2 separate regions of the Homo sapiens genome follow, and region 2 is linked to region 1. Evidence: promoter capture Hi-C in 16 types of primary human blood cells and fetal thymus (Javierre and others, 2016). All regions are on one chromosome and are shown on one strand. Each heading gives the region's core, a stretch centred on a gene start or on the middle of the fragment in contact. The rest is flanking DNA. Distances are from core to core; before and after follow the strand shown. Region 1 holds the start of STYX (serine/threonine/tyrosine interacting protein). Region 2 overlaps DNAAF2 (dynein axonemal assembly factor 2).

Evidence for each region. Contacts are between HindIII fragments. The CHiCAGO score rates a contact against its expected background, and 5 or more counts as called.
Region 2: a fragment that was not itself captured here is called in contact with the fragment with the promoter of STYX in region 1 in 1 of 17 cell types (neutrophils); the score reaches 8.8 in neutrophils.

The regions. Positions count from the first base shown.
Region 1 is chr14:52,727,680-52,732,552 of GRCh38, forward strand. STYX (serine/threonine/tyrosine interacting protein) reads left to right here and starts at 2,487. Exons shown (of 11, transcript NM_145251.4): 1 at 2,487-2,852. The coding sequence starts at 2,796. It overlaps PSMC6 (proteasome 26S subunit, ATPase 6), which reads left to right. Exons shown (of 14, transcript NM_002806.5): 14 at 1-911. RefSeq lists silencers at 2,172-2,631, 2,702-2,781. The HindIII fragment of the contact is 7,384 bases long and covers 163-4,873 here.
Region 2 is chr14:49,626,421-49,631,293 of GRCh38, forward strand. DNAAF2 (dynein axonemal assembly factor 2) reads right to left here. Exons shown (of 3, transcript NM_018139.3): 2 at 1,592-1,735. Among named protein-coding and RNA genes, the nearest start is that of DNAAF2, 6.4 kb to the right of the region's middle. The HindIII fragment of the contact is 7,948 bases long and covers 1-4,873 here.

The DNA.
Region 1 (4,873 bases), core at 1,237-3,736:
AGAAAATAATGTATGTATTGGTAATGATGTCATTAAAAGTATATGAATAAAAATATGAGTAACATCATAAAAATTAGTAATTCAACTTTTAAGATACAGAAGAAATTTGTATGTTTGTTAAAGTTGCATTTATTGCAGCAAGTTACAAAGGGAAAGTGTTGAAGCTTTTCATATTTGCTGCGTGAGCATTTTGTAAAATATTGAAAGTGGTTTGAGATAGTGGTATAAGAAAGCATTTCTTATGACTTATTTTGTATCATTTGTTTTCCTCATCTAAAAAGTTGAATAAAATCTGTTTGATTCAGTTCTCCTACATATATATTCTTGTCTTTTCTGAGTATATTTACTGTGGTCCTTTAGGTTCTTTAGCAAGTAAACTATTTGATAACCCAGATGGATTGTGGATTTTTGAATATTATTTTAAAATAGTACACATACTTAATGTTCATAAGATCATCTTCTTAAATAAAACATGGATGTGTGGGTATGTCTGTACTCCTCCTTTCAGAAAGTGTTTACATATTCTTCATCTACTGTGATTAAGCTCATTGTTGGTTAATTGAAAATATACATGCACATCCATAACTTTTTAAAGAGTATGATTCAACGTAATATTTGCTAATATGTGACTGGGTTTTCTTGGTTTATGTAAGACGATAGGTCCCTGTTGAGGATGTGGAGGTCTGGACCCTCTTCCAGGAAAAATTCTAACATACAATTTTGCGTATACTATAATTTCAGGAAATTTATTGTTTCCCAAGCTCATCCAAGGACTCTTTAGGTATGTATGGATACCTGGCTAAGAGTGTATGATGTAGGGGATGTAGGAGTGTCAGAAATGTTCAAAACATGATTTCTGTTACCTATACATGATTCTTATATCATCTGGCAATAAAAGCTATAACAAAGTACACAAAGGAATCATCATTGGGCATCAATAATTATTAAAGATGCTGGTGAAAAGAAAAGACAACTTCAGTTTCATAAACACTAAAGAACCAAAAATACATGACCTAGCTAATTATACAATAATTCTTCAAATTAAAAACTTCCTAGCAGGATATTATGTGCCTTTTTATAATTTTAGAAGATGAACAGTTAAAATAGAAAATGGAGTGGTCAAGTTAGCCATCTCATACTCAAATTATTGTACAGTTCTATTTCTATGTGTTGGCAGTGCATTTTATGTGACAAAAAGTAGAATGTAGGGGGAGGTTTAAGTCAAATATCTATGTGATCTTTTCACTTATAATTTGCATTTAGTTAAGGAGTGACTATCTTGCCTTTTACCTTTGTGCTGGCGGTGGTTTTTTAAAGAATCAATTTGGTGTACAAATCCTTTCTTTCTTTTTTTATTTTTGATTTTTTTTGAGATGGAGTTTCGCTCTTGTTGCCCAGGCTGTAGTGCCATTGCACTATCTCAGCTCATTGCAACCTCCGCCTCCCGGATTTAAGCGGTTCTCCTGCCTCAGCCTTCTAAGTAGCTGCGATTACTGGCATGCGCCACCACACCCAGCTAATTTTTGTATTTTTAGTAGAGACGGGGTTTCTCCATGTTGGTCAGGCTGGTCTCAAACTCCCGACCTCAGGTGATCCACACGCCTCAGCCGCCCAAAGTGCTGGGATTACAGGCGTGAGCCTCCGCGCCCGGCCCAAATCTTTTCACCATGGGTTTACAGGCATAACGCCACCACACCCAGGGAATTTTAAAATTGTTTTTTAGAGAGGGGGGTCTTACTATTTTGCTCAGGCTGGCAAACTCCTTTTAAAAGATATTGAAAGCCATCTGGTTTATTATTTTTATTTCAAAATATAATAATGGAAGAAATTTTACAGTATTATATACAATTTACTGAGTCAGCTATCAGTTCCTTTTTCTGATTTTTTTCTAGTTGCCATTCTTGATATTTTCTAGGTAATCTAAACTGAGTTGTATTTTCAAGTACTCTTAAAATACTTTAAAAAATTTTAAATTGAGCCGTTTAATTCTTTGCTTAAAGGTGATGGGTATTTTATTTTCTGTATGGCACCACGTGATTTTAAATTGAACTCTTCATTTATTAGTCATTTGGTTATAAACTCAGCATAGATTGCGCAGAATTTTGAGAGGGGAGAAACTATAGCTTTCCTTTCGGATGCCACTGGTGGGTAGCCTGTTTTGCCTGTTTGTTCTTATGTTAAAGAAGGGCTCTACGTCCTGTCTGGAAAGGGCGGAGCTGGCTCGGACCGCCCCACTGCCTTTCCCAGGACCTTCACTCGTCCTGTCCCACCGCAGCCCCGCCTCCTCCACGCCGGGTGAGCTGTGGCCTAGCAGCATCCGAGGCTCCGCCCCCCCCACCCCCAAGCGTCTGCGCTCTAGCGAAGGGGCGGAGCAGGGCGGTGGCGCGCTGACACCTGGCGGCGGCGGAGGGCGGGCAGAAGGCGAGCGTGGGCTGGGATTGGCTGAGGCGACGCGGGTGGAGGGGGCGGGAAGGAGGCGGGGAGACGGTTGTCGGGCTGGTTCCTGTGCTGGATCCTGGGCGGCCTGAGGGGTACGGAGACTCTGGGGGAGGGAGACGGCAGCGGCATGGCGGCCGGGTGTAAGACGCCCGACCCTCCTCTTCCCTGTCTTCGCCGCCGCCGCTGCTGGAGTCACTGGGACCCTGTAGTCTGCGTGTGTTAGTTGTAATCCCGCCGCCCTCCTGTCAGCCCTCCGCTCCGCCGGCCCTCCTTCCTTCCGCCGCCGCAGCCAGCCCGAGGGTCGGCCGGCTGTGTAACACTCTCCCACCCCACCCACCAGCCCGCGGGCCAGCACCATGGAGGACGTGAAGCTGGAGTTCCCTTCCCTTCCACAGTGCAAGGAAGACGCCGAGGTGAGTCGCTCCCGTGGCTGCCACGCACAGGCCTCTCCCTGTGGCTCCGGCCGAGGGGCGACCCCAGTCCCCAACCGTCTTAGCCGCCACCTGTACGGGCGCCCTGCCTCCTAAGGGCGTCCCGGGACCTCTGAAGCCGAGCGGTCGGCTCCAATCCCCACTGAGTTGCTCGTCCTCTCCAGACCCCGCGGAGGGGCAGCGTCTGGTGTACTTACATTTGAGAAGAGGAAAAGCAATCCCTTAGTCCCTAGGCTTGGCATCCAGGACTGACCTGGAGTAAGGTTCCTCTTTTATTGTCAAAGTAACAAGAGAGCGAAGTTGGTTTAGTCTCCTTTTGAGGAATATCTGTGGTGTAAACGATTCACTTGTGGGACACATGGCCCCACATGTGAAATAGACTCGGCGCCTGAAGTTTGGAAGCGCGCCTTCGAAAAGTTTCCCAAAGTTTTTTGTTTGTTTTTAGACAAAGCTATGACCCGCACAACAAAGTGTCTCAAAGCTAGCTCATCTTAATCTGAGAACTCTTAATCAGAAATCTTGACCTTTGGAGGAAAATTAATATTGAAAGTAAAATACTATATACCTTTTCTCCTGGTTTCTAATTTGTGGCTATTTTTACTCCACCTTAGATCCCTGCCTGCTGTTTCTACTCGGATTTTTTTTCATCTGTTGCTAGTTTAACATTTTACGGCATTGCAGACTACTAAATTAGAATTTTCTGGAGGCTAAATTAACAAGACGAAGATACTCAGCTATACTTTAGTAGGATTAAGAAAGAAAATCTAACATCGCTAGTTAAAAATACCTTTAAAGTAGTTGGGAAAAATAAAGCCCTATTTTTAGGAGACCATTCAATTTATTCCGAATATTTATTCTATTGAATATCTTCATTGGAGGTTCACTTTTTTTTTTTTTTTTTTTTTGAGACGGAGTCTTGCTCTGTCGCCAGGCTGGAGTGCAATGTGGCGCGATCTCGGCTCACTGCAACCTCCGCCTTCCGGGTTCAAGCGATTCTCCTGCCTCAGCCTCCTGAGTAGCTGGAACTACAGGCGCGCACCACCACGCCCAGCTAATTTTTGTGTTTTTAGGGGAGACGGGTTTCACCATTTTGGCCAGGGTGGTCTCGATCTCCTGACCTTGTGATCCGCCCGACTCGGCCTCCCAAAGTGCTGAAATTGCAGGTATGAGCCACCGCGCCCGGCCTAGGTTCACATTTTTGTTTGGAGGGCTCTCTTGTGGTATTGATGCTTGACAATTACATTTGTTTTAAGAGTAGAGACTTTGTTTGTGACTATCACTGTTGCAAAATGTAGTGCAGTGGTGTGATCTCGGTTCACTGCAGTCTCGAACTCCCATGCTCAAGCCATCCTTTCACCTCAGCCTCTGGAGTAGCTGGGACCATGCCGGGCTAATTTTTCTTTTTTTTTTTTTTTGTAGCGATGGGTTTTTTCTCCAGGCTGGTCTCGAACTCTTGGCCTCAAGATCCTCCCGCCTTGTCCTCCGAAAGTGTTGGGATTACAGGTGTGAGCCACTGCACCTGGCCCAAGAATATACTCATGGTTTTTTTTTTTTTTTTTTTTTTGACACAGAGTTTCACTCTTGTTGCCCCAGGCTGGAGTGCAGTGGCGCTGTCTCAGCCCACCGCAGCCTCTGCCTCGGGTCCCGGTTCAAACAGTTCTCCTGCCTAAGCCTCCTGAGTAGCTGGGGATTACAGGCGCGCACCGCCAGGCCCAGCTTTTTTTTTTTTTTTTTTGAGACAGAGTCTCACTCTGTCGCCCAGGCTGGAATGATCTTGCAGTGGTGCGATCTGGGCTCACTGCAAGCTCTGCCTCCCGTGTTCACGCCATTCTCCCGCCTCAGCCTCCCGAGTAGCTGGGACTGCAGGCACCCGCTACCACACCGGGCTAATTTTTTTGTATTTTTAGTAGAGACGGGGTTTCACCATGTTGGCCAGGATGGTCTCAAACTCCTGACCTTGTGATCCGCCTGGCTTGGCCTCCCAAAGTGCAGGGATTACAGGC
Region 2 (4,873 bases), core at 1,358-3,857, 3.1 Mb before region 1:
GGAGGTTGCACTGGGCCGAGATAGTGCCACTGTACTCCAGCCTGGGTGACAGGGTAAGACCCTGTCAAAAAAAGAAAAAGACAGGCAGCATTTGAAGGATGACTTTTTTTGTTTTGAGACGGAGTCTTGCTCTGTCGCCCAGGCTGGCACAATCTCAGCTGACTACAACCTCTGCCTCCAGGTTCAAACAATTCTGCCTCAGCCTCCCAAGTAGAGGGGATTACAGGCATGCACCACCACGCCCGGCTAATTTTTGTATTTTTAGTAGACACAGGGTTTCACCATGTTGCCCAGTCTGGTGTCGAACTCCTGACCTCAAATGATCCACAAAGTGCTGGGATTACAGGTATGAGCCATCACGACTAGTCTGCTGCCAGTCTTTTTTTTTTTTTTTTTTTTTTTTGAGATTGAGTCTGGCTCTGTCGCCCAGGCTGGAGTGCAGTGGCGCAATCTTGGCTTACTGCAATCTTTGCCTCCCAGATTCAAGCGATTCTCCTGCTTCAGCCTCCCAAGTAGCTGAGATTACAGGTGCCTGCCATGACGCCCGGCTAATTTTTATATTTTTAGTACAGACGGGGTTTCACTGTTGGCCAGGCTAGTCTCGAACTCCTGACCTCGGGTGATCCGCCTGCCTCGGTCTCCCAAAGTGCTGGGATTACAGGTGTGAGCCACTGCACCCAGCCTACTGCCAGTCATTTTTTAACAATGTAAACCTGGCACTAATATCCTGATTATATCCTTTCACAACAATAATCCATACTTTTCAACATGGTCTACAAAACTATTTAACAGTTATAAGCACATTGTTGAATTTCTTAAATTTTCTTGAATTCCTCTAATTTTTCAGAGCCGCCCTTCTAATACATATGTCTGTCGATTGTGGTAGTTACTAAATCATTTGCATCTTCAATACTGAAGACTATAAAAATGACCAAAATTAAGATTGAATTAGAAAGAACGTACAAATTGTATAACATAGTTCTCATGGTTTGAGAGTCAAAAAAGATTGTATGTCCCTGGACTAGTACTCAAACTTCCTAAGTGTTAGTTTCTCTTTGTTCCTCATTGTAGGGTTATTTTGGGATTAAATAATGTGAAAATGAATAGCAAAGTGTTTAGCACATAATACATACACAGACAAAAGGCTTTTCTTGGCTGGGCGCGGTGGCTCATGCCTGTAATCCTAGCACTTTGGGAGGCCGAGGCGGGTGGATCATGAGGTCAGGAGATCGAGACCATCCTGGCTAACACGGTGACACCCAATCTCTACTAAAAATACAAAAAATTAGCCAGGCATGGTAGCATGCTCCTGTAGTCCCAGCTACTTGGGAGGCTGAGGCAGGAGAATCGCTTGAACCCAGGAGGCGGAGGTTGCAGTGAGATGAGATCGCGCTACTGCACTTCAGCCTGGGTGACAGAGGGAGACTCCATCTCAAAAAAAAAAAAAAGAAAAACTTTTCTTCTCTTAACATCACTCTGCCCAACCATTATGTAAATTTTGTTTAAAGTTATGATATTAAGAAATCAATAATTTGTTAGGTTTTAACTCTGTGCTTCATTACTCCTCTATAGAGCCCATCAACTTCCTTACCTTTGCATTAATTTGAATCTTATTATCAGTAACTTGAAGAACTTCAATTAATGGTGGGGTCAAGGACATAGACTGTTTGAATGGAGAGCTCAGGACCTCTTCAAGAAACTCATTAACATTTTCTTCATTGACAAATAACCTTTCCTAAAATAAAAAGGGAAAAAATATTCTGCCTAATAAGTCCCACTTGACAACAGTTGTATCTCAAAGCAGCTCACAAAAATTCTCACATTGTTCAGGGTTACACTTTTTAAAATGTTTATTTTAATGTTATTCCTATGAGCTGTCTTAGAAAAATTTAAGTTTGGTATTGTACAGAGCAATAAGAGTTGTACTGAGAACAAACATAAACGTATAGAAAAAGAACCTAAAAGAAAGAGGTCTTGGTACTTTTTCTGTCTATTAAACCTGACCTTTTAGTATTTTTCTTTCTTTTTTTGTTTCTTTTGTTTTGTTTTTTTGAGACATAGTCTCACTCTGTTGCCCAGGCTGGAGTGCAGTGGTGCAATCTCGGCTCACTGCAACCTCCGCCTCCCAGGTTCAAGCAATTCTCCTGCCCCAGACTACCGAGTAGCTGGGATTACAGGCGACTGCCACCATGCCGGACTAATTTTTGTATTTTTGGTAGAGATGGGGTTTTACCATGTTGGCCAGACTGGTCTTGAACTCCTGACCTCAAGCTATCCACCTGCCCTGGCCTCCCAAAGGGCTGGGATTACAGGTGTGAGCAACCACAGCTGGCCTCTTTTAGTATTTCAGAAGAATAACATCATCTCTAGGGCTATAAATGGGATCCCAGATACAAAATATAATTCAGCTTTAAAACATTTCCTAATGAGGTGGCTAAGAAATATACATGAAAAGATCTATTCAAATTTTGTGTGACCTTTTAGTTCTTGGGCAGGTAAGAGCCAATTACAGTATTTTATTTCAAATAAGTGGTGTGTTTTTTTGTTTGATTTTGTTTTTGAGACAGAGTCTTGCTCTGTCTCCCAGGCTGGAGTGCAGTGGCATAATCACGGCTCGCTGCAGCCTTGACCTCCCAGGCTCAAGTGATCCTCCCGCCTCAGCCTCTACAGTAGCTGGGACCACAGAACATGCCACCACTCTCGGCTAAGTTTTGCATTTTTTTGTAGAGACAGGGTTTTGCCCTGTTGCACAGGCTGGCCTCAAACTTCTGCACTCAAGTGATCCACCTGCTTTGGCCTCCCAAAGTGCTGGGATTACAGGCGTGAGCCACCACCACACCCAGCCCCCGCCCCCCTTTTTTTCTTTTTTTTGCCTTGAGACAGGGTCTCACTTTGTTGCCCAGGCTGGAATGCAGTCGCACACTCATAGCCCCCTGCAGCCTTGACCTCCCTGGCTCAAGCAATCCTCCACCTGTGCCCCCAAGTGCCTGGGTACCTGGGACTACAGGTGCATGCCATAATGCCCAGCTAATTTTTACATTTTTGGGGCCTGGTGTGGCAGCTAACGCCTGTAATTCCAGCACTTTGGGAGGCCAAGGTGGGTGGATCACTTCAGGTCAGGAATTCGAGACCAGCCTGGCCAACATAGTGAAACCCTGTCTCTACTAAAACTGCAATCACGTGAACCCGTGAGGCGGAGATTGCAGTGAGTCCAGCCTGGGCGACAGAGTGAGACTCTGTCTCAAAAAAAAAAATTTGACATTTTTTGTAGATACAGGTCTCACTTTGTTGTCCAGGCTGGTCTCCAACTCCTGGATTCAAGCTGTCCTCCTACCTTGGCCTACCAAAGTGCTGGGATTACGGGCGTGAGCCACTGCACCCAGCCAAGTGTATTATATTTTTAAGCACTGGGATACTCCAGCGTAACATTAGCAAACTGTATAGTTATTAAAAGAATGAAGTAGAGAGCATATATTCAGGGCATTTTGAATCTATGCTCCAGAGAAAAAGTAAATTATGAAAAAAATTAGGCTGGGCACAGTGGCTCATGCTTATAATTCCAGCACTTTAGGAGGCCAAGGCAGGTGGATTGTTTGAGCCCAGAAGTTCGAGACCAGCCTAGGCAACATGGCAAAACTCATCTCTACAAAAAATACAAAAATTAGCCGGGAGTGGTAGCATGCACCTGTGGTCCTAGCTACTCCAGAGGCTAAGGTGGGATGATCGCTTGAGTCTGGGAGGTTGAGGCTGCAGTGAGCCATGATCGCACCACTGCACTCCAGCCTGGGTGAGACAGAGCGAGACTCTGTCTCCCAAATAAATAAATAAATAAATAAATAATGAGGTAGATTTCAAGATGCTGACATGAAAAGATTTCTAAACTATTACTAGAAAATGCAAAAATCACCTTTTACCTGAATCCCAAACACAAAGCAGTTTGTTCATGTCAAGTGAATACAGGTGTATAGTTAGGGTGTGGGGAGAATAACCATATTAACCATATTTTAAATTAATTTATAAAAGCAGTTCATTGTTGCCCCAAATAAAAATGTTTTCCTCTGTAGTTTTATATAAGCAAATTTTGTAATTACAAAATAAACACAGCTCATTATTTGGTCCAAATAGGTGGAAAATATCAGAAAGAAACAAGTTTCAAGTTTCTTGAACTTGGGAACATATATTCAGGGCAACTTGAATATGTGTTTCCCAGGTTGCAGTCCTCTATTTTGGCCCAAATAAACTCTCTCTCCACACACACACACACACACACACACACACACATAAACTCTCTACACACACACACACACACACAAACTCTCTACACACACACACACACTTTTTTTTTTTTTGAGAAAGAGTCTCACTCTGTCACCAGGCTGGAGTACAACTGCGTGATCTCAGCTCACTGCAACCTCCACCTCCCGGGTTCAAGCAATTCTCCTGCCTCAGCCTCCCAAGTAGCTGGGACTGCAGGCGTGCACCACCACGCCCAGCTAATTTTTGTATTTTTAGTAGAGACAGGGTTTCACCTTGTTGGCCAGGATGGTCTCAATCTCCTGACCTCGTGATCTGCCTGCTTCAGTCTCCCAAAGTTCCGGGGCTACAGGTGTGAGCCACCACGCCTGGCTACGTATTTTTCTTCCATTAAACAGTATTTAAAATCGTGAAAACCTACCAAACAAAAGTGAACCTTGGGAATAGAAAAATTTTACATTTAGAGTAACTGGCTTTGCTATTATTTGAAGATCCAGAATAACACAGTGTTACAGAAACATCCCCATCGAAAGCATTTCTAAGGTTCATGCCTCTGGGAAAAGACATCATCTTTGACTCCTTGCAAATAATACACCAAATATTTTAATTTTTAGTTATC